Regions from separate parts of the Homo sapiens genome. Here all the other regions are linked to region 1. The links are contacts of gene promoters, found by promoter capture Hi-C in human tissues and cell types (Jung and others, 2019). All regions are on one chromosome and are shown on one strand. The core of a region is centred on a gene start or on the middle of the fragment in contact, and the rest is flanking DNA. Distances in the headings are between cores, read along the strand shown.

Evidence for each region. The method cuts DNA at HindIII sites, captures the fragments that hold promoters and counts their contacts. A contact is called where the count stands out against the background at its distance.
Region 2: the fragment with the promoter of SEMA3F here is called in contact with the fragment with the promoter of TRAIP in region 1 in 2 of the 25 tissues and cell types used here (H1 embryonic stem cells and lymphoblastoid cells).
Region 3: a contact is called between a fragment that was not itself captured here and the fragment with the promoter of TRAIP in region 1, in 2 of the 25 tissues and cell types used here (dorsolateral prefrontal cortex and thymus).

The regions. Positions count from the first base shown.
Region 1 is chr3:49,854,656-49,858,378 of GRCh38, forward strand. It overlaps TRAIP (TRAF interacting protein), which reads right to left and starts at 1,909. Exons shown (of 15, transcript NM_005879.3): 1 at 1,701-1,909. The coding sequence starts at 1,798. CAMKV (CaM kinase like vesicle associated) reads right to left here. Exons shown (of 11, transcript NM_024046.5): 11 at 3,334-3,723. The HindIII fragment of the contact is 12,385 bases long and covers 1-3,723 here.
Region 2 is chr3:50,153,411-50,157,133 of GRCh38, forward strand. SEMA3F (semaphorin 3F) reads left to right here and starts at 1,914. Exons shown (of 19, transcript NM_004186.5): 1 at 1,914-2,154. It overlaps LOC124909484 (basic proline-rich protein-like), which reads left to right and starts at 1,260. Exons shown (of 2, transcript XM_047449434.1): 1 at 1,260-1,286; 2 at 1,651-2,379. The coding sequence starts at 1,260. The coding sequence ends at 2,379. SEMA3F-AS1 (SEMA3F antisense RNA 1) reads right to left here and starts at 2,675. Exons shown (of 4, transcript NR_135301.1): 1 at 2,324-2,675. RefSeq lists silencers at 1,189-1,248, 1,259-1,398, 1,429-1,898. The HindIII fragment of the contact is 29,271 bases long and covers 1-3,723 here.
Region 3 is chr3:50,116,683-50,120,405 of GRCh38, forward strand. RBM5 (RNA binding motif protein 5) reads left to right here. Exons shown (of 25, transcript NM_005778.4): 23 at 392-489; 24 at 568-697; 25 at 1,649-2,339. The coding sequence ends at 1,774. SEMA3F-AS1 (SEMA3F antisense RNA 1) reads right to left here. Exons shown (of 4, transcript NR_135301.1): 4 at 1-1,566. Among named protein-coding and RNA genes, the nearest start is that of RBM5-AS1, 18 kb to the left of the region's middle. RefSeq lists an enhancer at 3,616-3,723. The HindIII fragment of the contact is 8,641 bases long and covers 1-3,723 here.

The sequences.
Region 1 (3,723 bases), core at 659-3,158:
TATGTTTACTCTTTATTTAATCAGTAATTGCAACAATTTTAAGTAGACTAAATGGTCCAGTTAAATACAAAGATTATCAGACTGGATTTTTAAAAGTCCAACTAAATGTTGTTTTCCAAGGCTGGGTGCGGTGGTTCACACCTGTAATCCTAGCACTTTGGGAGGCAGAGGTGGGTGGATTACTTGAGTCCAGGGGTTCAAGACCAGCCTGGGCAACATAGCAAGACCCCATCTCTACTAAAAATACAAAAAAAAAAAAATAGTCAAGCATGGTGGCAGGCGCCTGTAGTCCCAGCTACTTGGGAGGCTAAGATGGGAGAATCACCTTAGCCCAGGAGGTAGAGGCTGCAGTGAGCCGAGATGGCACCACTGCACTGCAGCCTGTGTAACAGAGTGAGACCCTGTCTCAAAATAAAATAAAATAAAGATCTTTGCAGTAAGCTAAAGTACTTTTTAATATACAAAAAAAGAAATAAATGCTGTTTCAAGGGATACATGTAAAACACAAGGACACAGAAAAGTTTAAAGTAAAAGGATAGGCCCTAGCACTTTGAGAGGCCAAGGTGGGTGGATCACCTGAAGTCAGGAGTTCGAGACCAGCCTGGCCAACATGGAGAAACCCTGTCTATGAAAAACACAAAAATTAGCTGGGCGTGGTGGCGCACGCCTGTAATGTCAGCTACTTGGGAGGCTGAGGAAGGAGAATCACTTGAACTCAGGAGGTGGAGGTTGCAGTGAGCCGAGATCACGCCACTGCACTCCAGCCTACACGACAGGAGCGAGACTCCATCTCAAAAATAAAATAAAATAAAAATAAATAAATAAAGTAAAAGGATAGAAGAAAATAGAGTAGGCAAACAGAAAATAGAGTACGCTTAGAGGCGAGCTTAATTTCTAGTCTAACCAAACAGCAGTGGCTCCCTCAGCATGGGGCTCAGGCTGTCAGCAACACAGGCCTAAACAAAGCTTTGCAAGTAAGCCAGCAGCCATCAGTGTCATGCCTGCCTTTCTGCTTCCTAGGGCCTTTAGCCCCACAAGACCCTGTGATTATTATCACCCACCATTCCCAGGGGTAACGCTGCCTTATCTCTTTTGCTAGGAGGTCCAAACCGGCCTGTCCACATCTGCTAGGGGAATCTTTCCCCACTAGCTGTACACTCAACAGAATGGCCCTACACGGTCAGCAGGACCCCTGGATAGGGGAGCATCTCCTTGCCTTCCCCATGTTAAACGGGTTTGCTGACATGGCGAATACATTGGGGTGTCTGGACAGTGAGATGACTCTGGGTAGAATAATTCCAAACCATCAAGTAAGGCACAGCAAACTCTCTTGGGTAGCCAGAAGCCTAGCAGGTTTCTATCTGGAAGAAATAAAAGGACTTGTTGATGTGGTGAAAGCTCACCCTTGCCCAGGCTAACGGTTTTGAAATCACATCTGTTTGTATAGGTGATCAAGGAAGCATCTATCTTCACTGAGCCATCTTAGTCCCCCTCAGGCTTAGCTCAGCTATCACCTCTACCAGAAAGCCTGTCCTGACCCACTTCTGCCCAGGTTGGGAAGCTCCCGTGGGGCCTCGTCTAGGAGGAAGGTTCTCATCACTTGTCTGGATTCCGGGGTTGGACCGCCTGGAGGCCCAACACCTCAAGGCCCTGAAGCGGTACCCGGGCAAACACCGGGCCCCAACACTGCAGTCACTCACCACTGCAAGTGGAAGGTGTGGCCGCAGTGGATGGCGGCCACGTCGCGGGAGTGATCGAAGAAGTCGGAGCAGATAGTGCACAGAGCACGGATAGGCATGATGGCTGGACTCAAGGGGCCCAGGCAGCCAAAGAAACTGCTACAGGTCCGGCTTCGTAGACGCGCCCCCGCGCCTCCGCTTGCTTCAAATTTGGCTCCGCAGCACGACTTCCTGGAGCGGGCCGGAAGTGACAACACAAAACTTTGGGCGGAGCGTGAATACTTCGCCTGGATTGGACAAATTCTCGGATGGGCGGAACTATGGGCGGGGCTTAGCGGCCCCGAGGCCGTAGAGAATCCTGGGCGGAGCGCGGTCGCTCTCAGGCGTCCTCTGGGGAGACTCGACCTGCCACTTGAGAGCGCAGCATTATATCAAGGCGGGGAGCAGCGAGGCTGCCAGCTGGACCCTTTTCCAGGGCAAGGCAGCGCATTGTGGTCCCATGCCAGAGCTGGCGCGAGGCAGGCTGGGCCAAGGCAGAGAAAACCGCAGCCGCAAGGGAATAGAACAATGGTCCCGATGGGTCCCTTGGGCTCTGGACAGTGATGGACCATGCGCTATGGTCTGTAGTTCCCATAGACCACAATACCCTACCCTCTCAGTCCTCAGTTCCGGGCGATTCTAGAAAGATGGACACATAGGCCCCAGTCCCTCAGGTCACCCCAGGCCAACCTTGGCTTCATCCAAGTAAGATATGACTATCCTTGAGTTTGGAGACACTAGGGCCAGTACCCTGACTTTAGCTCTTAGCTCTCAGGAGGATCAGTTATGCTTGAGACTGTAGTAGGGTTGGAATTTTGGAGGCCCAGATGCTTCAAAGACTAGAGACTAACAAATCCTTTTTATTATTCCCACATCAGAGAAGTTATCTTTGAGGAGGTTATCTTTGAGGTCCTCCCAGAGAGCAGCATCCCTGGTGAGTTCACCCAGGCCCACCTGGGCTGGAGTAAGTCAACTTTTGGGTTTTTAGGCTTAGTATCTGTGGCAGTGTTACTCCCTCTACCCAGAAGAAACCCTGTGCATAGTCCCATAATATAAAGCTGATCTGCTCCAGCTGAAATAGACCCAGAGTGAGATTTCATTTGGGGCATAGGTGGAAAGCACAGGTGTTCACAGAAAGAAGGAATCAACACAGAGCAGCATAGAATCTTTGTGCATTGCTCACCCTACACCCTCTCCCTAGCTCAGGGAAGCTATCTTTGGCTATGAGCAGGGTCTGTCCTTGCGGTGGCTGGCCCAGGTAGATTCCAGCTCTATGCCTAAATCAAGAGTAAGGCTCCTCGGTCAACAGGAGTCAAAAACAGCAGCCCTTACTTGAGCTCTCAGCCCAGGGAGTATTCCTTGGTCCAAATGCAGCCCAAGACCCACTACTCACATGGATTTCTAGAGTTCAGAGGACCCCCACCACCACCACCATTGAGGAATACACTGTGGTGAGGATGATCTTCACCCTCAGCCCAAGAAATCCACAGGGCACTGTTCACTACTACTCCCAGCCACTACTTGTGAACCTGCTCCCAGCCTCTCCCTTCCCCACTGCCTTCCAGGGGCTCCTCCCCAGTAGGACAGAGGAAGCAAAGGCGAGAGGGTGGCCAGAGGCTTTGCAGGGTGATGTTTATTTGCCAGGTTCAGTAGGCACACAGTTAACCCACCGACCTTCACACACCAGAGCAGACCCACAGGCATGCAGGGAGAAGGGCAGGACCACCACGGAGTGCCGAGCAAGGGCGAGGACCAATGTGGCTGCCTATCCAGGCTGTGGTAGGGTCTGACAAAGGGCACCTGTCAGGAGCCTCCCTCAGGAAACTGGGGAGTTTAACCCTACTTCCTCATCCCAGAAAAAGCAACTCAATGTGGCTCTGAGGCACCTGGGCCTCTGATAGAAGTGAGCTGTAGAAAGAGGGAGTTCCTCTTCATTTCATTGTTGAACTGAGCAGAAAATCTGCCCCTGTAAAGGGCAAACCTCCAAATCAGATTATGAGTTATT
Region 2 (3,723 bases), core at 664-3,163, 300 kb after region 1:
AGTGGCCAGGCTATAAGGAGACCATGGAGGCTGTGAGAGGATGGAAGGGATGGTGTTGGAAGCCATAGAGATGGTGGCTTAAGCTGTATTGGTGATGGTGGTGCAGTGGTGGTGACCTCAGGGGTGACCCTCATACAGATGAGTGGGGATGAGGAGAGATGGATTGTCACAGTGTTTTCAATGAGGCGTGACAAAGGGGAGAGGTGCAGGTGCTGTCACAGCAGCTCCATAACTCCAGGATGGTGTTTGCTCACCTCAAATGCCCTGCCTGTGCTTGGAGCATGAGGCAGCACTCTAAGTCCTGAGTCAGGAGACCCTCAGCAGGATCCCTAGTGCCCAGCTCCACCTTGCACTTGGAGTCAACCAGTCAATGGGTCAGAGGGAGAGAGGTCTTTTCCTGGAGGTCTTGCTAGCCAGGGAGAGAAGTGGGAGGAGGAAGAAGGCGGAGAGGAGGAGTGAGAAGAAAAAGAGAAAGGAGGAAGAGGGTAAAGAGCAGGAAGAAGGAGGAGGAAGAAGAGAAGGAAATGCATGGGGTGGAGGAAGAGAAGGGAGAGGAGGAGAGGGCAGAGAAGGAAAAATCCAGGAGAAGAGAGGAGAAGGAGGAAAAGGAGGGAGATGGAAAAGAGGGAGAAGAGGAGAGAGGAAGAGGGAGAAGAGAGGGGAGAAGGAAGGAGAGGCAGAGGGAGAAGAGGAGAAAGGAAAGAGGAGAAAGAGGAGGGCACAGAAGACAGAACAGGAAGAGGATGAAGGAGAGGACAAAGGGCCAACGCCCCTGGGAGCCTCCGCAGGGTGCCCGGGGCAGGGCTGAGAAGTGGTCCTGGTGGTGAGGCCATGACCTTGGAAAGTTGGGTTGGGCAGAGGGTCCCTTCCTGGGGTCACGGTAGGCCCTTCTCAGTTGCTGAGCCATTGGCTCATCACCAGGCCATTTGAAAGCAAATGTCCCCTTGAGGAGAGAAGGTGCTAGCTGATCTGGCCTCTCTAAGGTATGGAACTATAAGGAGAGTCTGTGGGAGCTGCTGGCCTGAAATAAGGGCTGGCGATTGAGGCGATCACGGGGAGTCGTTGAATGGCTGGAGAGAGCTGTGTGGCTGGGCTGCCCCCGACCTGGCCTAGGCTGGAGGCTGAGCCCGCGGGAAGGTCCGGCGGTGCCAGCCGTCCCAGGGGCTGCACCGCCACCTGCTGAGCAGCCCGGGCAGTCAGGGGTCCTGCGCCGCGGGGCCCACGCACGGGACCAGGGGCACGGCCGGCGGCGAGTGGGAATGAGGGACGCGGAAGGGGGTGCTCAGGTGAGCGCAGGCTCGTTGCTCCCTGGCGCTGCAGCCCTTCTCGCCAGGGAGTTGAATGCCCGGGTAAACACCAGGCGCGATGTGTGCGGTGTATTCACAGAGAGACAAAGCCAGGGCGGGGCGGGGGCGCCGCCCGCGAAGCGGGGGCGGGGGCGAGGGGTGCAGACTAGTCTCCCCCGGCGCGGGGTGCCCACCGCCTGGGAACCCTGAGCCCGGCCCACGGACAGGTGGAGCGGGGGCGGGGCGGTGGCTGGGCGGGTCCCGCCCCGGGGGTGGGGCTGGGCGGGCCGGGCGGGGCGGGGCTGCGCTATGCAAATGTCGCCCACGGGCGGCCAATTGCCGGCGCTCCCCGCGCGGCTCTGAGCGCCCCGTCCCGCCGGCGGCCGCGAGACCAGAGCGAGCGAACGAACCGCGGCGGTCCGGAGAGCCCCGAGCGCAGCGCAGGACCTGGGTACGCCGCGAGGAACCGTGCAGCCCAGCGCGGCCGCCCGGCCCGGGTCCAGCAGCCAGGAGAGCGCAGCGCTTCGAAGCCGAGTGCGCGCCACCGCCCGCGCCCCGCGCTGGGGAATGCGCCCTCGGCGCGCCGGCCAGGGGGCGCCCGCAGCCCACCCCAGGGGAGGCGGCCCCGAGCGCCCCTGAGCCTTCCCATGGCCCGGGCTGGGGCCCGGGCCCTCGGCTGCTGACGCGCCCGAAGCCCGCGGAACCGGTTAAGCCGCGGCCGCGGCGCCGATCCCGGCTGAGGCGCAGCGGCGAGAGGTCGCGGGCAGGGCCATGGCCCCGGGGGGCCGCTAGCGCGGACCGGCCCAACGGGAGCCGCTCCGTGCCGCCGCCGCCGCCCGGGCGCCCAGGCCCCGCCGCTGCGGAAGAGGTGAGTGCAGCGGGAACCGGGAGGGAGCGGGCAGGCGGCCGGGCCACCCCGCGACCCCTCTGGGACCCGCGGCACTGCAACTCCGCAGAAGTGTCCGGGGAGCGGGTCTCGTCGAGCCGGGGGGCTGCCCGCGGACATAGGGGCAACAAGGCTGGGGTGGGATTCTTACCTGTCCTGGAGGCCCGGACCCCTTACCTACGGGGCGGCGTATGGATGTGTGGATGATGTGGCCTGCGGGGTCACCCATGTGCAAAGCAACTTTTTCCTGCAAGGTTCTGGGTGGGTGCTCTCATACACCCCCACCTTCACGCTTCTGGAGCGGGAGTTCCGATCCCCCTTCTGCCTCAGCTCTCTCTCCCATTAACGCCCGAGGCAGCGCTCTTCCCCGTAGATGCGCTTGCCCTACCTCAGTGTCTCTACTTGAGGACTGGCCAGCCCGAAGGGAAGCGGTATACTGGCAGTCCCCACGTGGGGGGTCTCCCACATCAGCAGAGTGGGAGGACCTCCAGTCCTGAGGCATTTCTCCCAGCATTGTGCCAGCCCCTTGACCCCCAGCTGCCACCTTGGGTTTGCTTTTACAGCAGAGTCCTGCCTGGATTAGGGGCACGGCTGTATGTAGTGTGTAGGTGAGCTTGGAGAGCCTGCGGTCAATCCCTAGTTTGAACCAGGGGTCCCAGTGGTGAAGTGGGCAGGGGACAGCGGGGGCTTGGCGGGGTTGCCCCCAGCAGATGGGACAGGAGGGTATCAAAGTTGGCCTAGGAATGAGGCAGTGCTGGCGGGAGTTGGCTGGAGCTGGGGCTGGGGGCCCCACTGGATAAATAACTCCTAATTTTTGAGATAGCTGTGTTTTGCCACCAGAACATTACTGCTTGGGAGAGGTAAGGGAGACGCCAACCAAAGACACCAGTATGTCCACCCTGAAGCTGGGCCAGGTTGGGGACCTCTGTCCTCCTGAATTCACCCAGATAGTCTCCCAGTAGTTATCCTAGTTGCAGAGAAGGGAAAACTGCACCCAGGGGTTGGGAGCCCCATCTCAGCCCAGGGAGTTGGATGGAGCTGAGGCCTCTTCCCAGGCTACCCAAGGGGTGTGCCAGGACCCCGTAGGGTATAGTGTCTAGGCAGGCGGGGGGCACAGGCATGCCTACTCCTGCTGCTCCCCCTTCAGCTCCGAAGGAGCCAGGCCCGGAAGTGGGGAGGTGGGGGCCGGAGAGAAAGCAGGGGCCAGAGAGAAGGCGGCAGCCCACCCAGCCTCAGCCCCTCGCTGCTCAGCATACCTTGGGGGGAGGATGGAGCCAGGCTCAGGTGACCTTGACTGGGAAACCCTGGCCACAAAAGGGGGGTTTCAGTCCCAGCTATGCTGGGGTGGCTCTGCTTCCTGGTCCTTGAGGTGTTGGGGGATGGGGAAGCTGAGGAGCCAAGAAGGAGACAGAGCTCTTGTTGAAGTGGGGGAGGGAATCTGAGGGGCTGGGTAGCGGGTGGGGTGCTGTTGATAATCTCCCCATGTTCCCCTACGGCCCCTGTTCCTGCCTCCCTTCCATCCAGGCAGTCCTCAGCTCGGAGGAGCCAACC
Region 3 (3,723 bases), core at 496-2,995, 260 kb after region 1:
TTGATGTTGGAGGTATGCCTTTCCAAATGTTGGAGGTATGCCTGTCCAAATGCTGAGGAGAACGGGCAACTCTGCCTTCCTCTTCGCAAGCTGTACCCACTGCCCAGTGGGCTGGTTGAGTAGCTTGACAGAGGGTGGCTAATTAAATAAAACTGCTTGTTGGAGACATAGTTCTGCCCCTGGTTCCACACAATTCATATTTACAAATTTAACATTTCAGATATGACTAGGTATGATGATGGGAACAAGGGAATTTGGTATTTCAGAGCAGTCTAAAAAAAGCATTCTTCAGATTTAAAAATACTTGAGGGGATAGTTTTGAATAGGTGCATTAGACGGTTACAGGTTGAAGTCTGTGAACATTTCCAGCAGTGTTTTTTCTCCCATGTAGATGAAATACCGAGACCGAGCTGCAGAAAGACGGGAGAAGTACGGCATTCCAGAACCTCCAGAGCCCAAGCGCAAGAAGCAGTTTGATGCCGGCACTGTGTATGTGATGTGCACATTTTCCAGTTCGTAAGCTGGGGCCCTGGCTGTTTTAAGTAACTGTGTGTTTGCCACTGGCAGGAATTACGAGCAACCCACCAAAGATGGCATTGACCACAGTAACATTGGCAACAAGATGCTGCAGGCCATGGGCTGGCGGGAAGGCTCTGGCTTGGGACGAAAGTGTCAAGGCATTACGGCTCCCATTGAGGTAAGCAGTGGGGTCAGGTCTTGATGTTTGCCAGGCTTACAGGCCGGTTCCAGAGATGAGATCAGAGCACTCATAGAGCCTGGGAGCCAGGAGCAGCTTTACCTTAGCATGAAGGGGCAGATTACAGGCATGAGCTCACACCTGTAATCCCAGCACTTTGGGAGGCCGAGGAGGGTGGATTGCCTGAGCCCAGAAGTTTGAGACCAGCCTGGGCAACACGGTGAAACCCCGTCTCTACTAAAATACAAAATATTAACTGGACGTGGCAGCGTGTGCCTGTAATCCCAGCTAGTCAGGAAGCTGAGGCAGGAGAATTGCTAGAACCTGGCAGGAGGAGGTTGCAGTGAGCCGAGATCACGCCACTGCACTCCAGCCTGGGCAACAGCGACTCTGTCTCAAAAAAAAAAAAAATTTAGTAGGGTTTTCACCCATGATAAGAAATCTTTAAATTGATCAGAGCCCACATTGAGGCATCATATCCCAGGATCGGAGGCCCCTACCCACTGGCCTTCTAGGCAGGAGCTCCACCCGTAATTGCCCCTGCTCTGTCCTGGGAGCACAGCTTAGGTCAGACTCTTGTAGACCATGTTCATCCTGTTTATGTGAGTTCTGCTGACATTGAGCTATCCTGTATAATGTGTGCCTGTAATTACCATACCTTTCCCAGACCTTCAGAGGAATACTTTGGGGCCCTTTCCTAGGCGTGGATGCTTGCTGAGCAGGCATTGAGGGGTGGGTGATTTGCTTCATCTGCCTGTGTTCCGTAGCCCATTTTATTCCTCCAGTCCTTATACTTGCTCCTGGTCTCTTCTGGAGAAATCCTTGTCTTCATATACAGTTTTCTCTCTTCTGTCTCCTGGTGGGTGGTCCTGCTGGGTAAGGAGTGGGCATGGTGAGAGGTGGAGCAGCCCATACCCTACCTCCCAGCTGACAGTCTCTGTGCTTTCCCAGGCTCAAGTTCGGCTAAAGGGAGCTGGCCTAGGAGCCAAAGGCAGCGCATATGGTTTGTCGGGCGCCGATTCCTACAAAGATGCTGTCCGGAAAGCCATGTTTGCCCGGTTCACTGAGATGGAGTGAGAGAGAGAGAGAGAGAGAGATGACAAGGAGCACAAGAAGTGGTCCATCTCCCGAATTCGCTGTTACCGCCTGTCTCTTTAAGGGCATGCCTTGTGCTGTTAATAGATCTTAGGGTGAACCACTTCATTCTGCAGGGTTCTCCCTCCCACCTTAAAGAAGTTCCCCTTATGTGGGTTGCCTGGTGAATGGCCTTCCTTCCCGCCAGAGGGCTTGTGAACAGACCGGAGAGGACAGTGGATTGTTTATACTCCAGTGTACATAGTGTAATGTAGCGTGTTTACATGTGTAGCCTATGTTGTGGTCCATCAGCCCCTCACATTCCTAGGGGTTTGAGATGCTGTAGGTGGTATGTGACACCAAAGCCACCTCTGTCATTTGTTGTGATGTCTTTTCTTGGCAAAAGCCTTGTGTATATTTGTATATTACACATTTGTACAGAATTTTGGAAGATTTTCAGTCTAGTTGCCAAATCTGGCTCCTTTACAAAAGAAATACCTTGAGAAATGGGTGTCCTGTGTCTCTTTATTCTTGGGTGGGTAGGTGGGTCAAGCATGTCTGAGCCAGTCAAGCCTGGTGATGAAATCAGTTTATTTCTTGCCCCCATCACCACGTTCTGATTGATTGATTGATTGATTTTGAGGCAGGGTTGGCCAGGCGTGGTGGCTCACACCTGTAATCCCAACACTTTGGGAGGCCGAGGCAGGTGGATTGCCTGAGGTCAGGAGTTTGAGACCAGTCTGGCCAACATGGTGAAACCCTGTCTCTACCAAAAATACAAAAAAATTAGCCAGACGTGGTGGTGTGCACCTGTAATCCCAGCTACTCGGGAGCCTGCAGCCTCGACCTCCCGGGCTCACGCGATTCTCCCACTTTAGTGTTCCAAGTAGCTGGGACTACAAGCACATACCACCATGCAGGCTAATTTTTTAATTTTTTACAGAGATGGGGCCTCACTCTGTTGCCCAGGCTGGTCTTGACATGTTCGGATTTTTAAATTCAAGAGTTTAACATGTTTTAGCCGGGCGTGGTGGCTCACGCCTGTAATCCCAGCACTTTGGGAGGCCGAGGCAGGCGGATCACCTGGCGTTGGGAGTTCAAGACCACCCTGACCAACATGGAGAAACCCGTCTCTACTAAAAATACAAAATTAGCTGGGTGTGGTTGGCCTGTAATCCCAGCTGCTCGGGAGGCTGAGGCAGGAGAATTGCTTGAACCCAGGAGGCGGAGTTTGCAGTGAGCCGGAGGTCGCGCCATTGCACTCTAGCCTGGGCAACCAGAGCAAAACTCCGTTTCAAAAAAAAAAAAAAAAAAAGTTTAGCATGTTTTAAAACTCTTCATGGAAATCATGGTAACTTAGTAGCTTTTCTGCTAAGACCAAAGTGACCATGAGTGCTTGCACCTCTCTAGTTTCCACAGACTTTATTCCACACATGCCGGAGTGTGGAGTTGTCACTGCTCTGCAGGGCAGATCCTCCCTGCTTTTGGCCATGATACAGGTGATACCTGGTCCACCCTCTGCTGCGATGGAGAAACTGAGGAGGTCATCTCCCCCTGGCAGCACTCCACTCACTGCATCTTCTCAGCTGCTAAGGAGGTCCTGGGGGCATTGGAGAGTTTTCTGTTTTGAATGGGTATTTCGTCCTCAGCACTCTTCCACAGGGCAGAGAACATCATTTTGACCCAGAAGACCATGCCTGACCAGGTCAGGAAGTATACCTGGATCTCAGGCTGTTCTTGGGACCAGATGATGTGATGGGTTGCTCACATTGCCAATCTGGCCAAACTGAGTGCTTAAGCTCCACAGATTGGGCATGCAGTTAAGGTGGCCTTTTCTCTGCAGTTTACTTTTGAAGCTAGACTTGCTTTTGTGGGTGGTCACGTTTTCCTCTTTTCGGGCAGGGCGTTAAGGAATAGAAAATGCTCAGGAGGTCCTCACCCTGGCCTGTAGG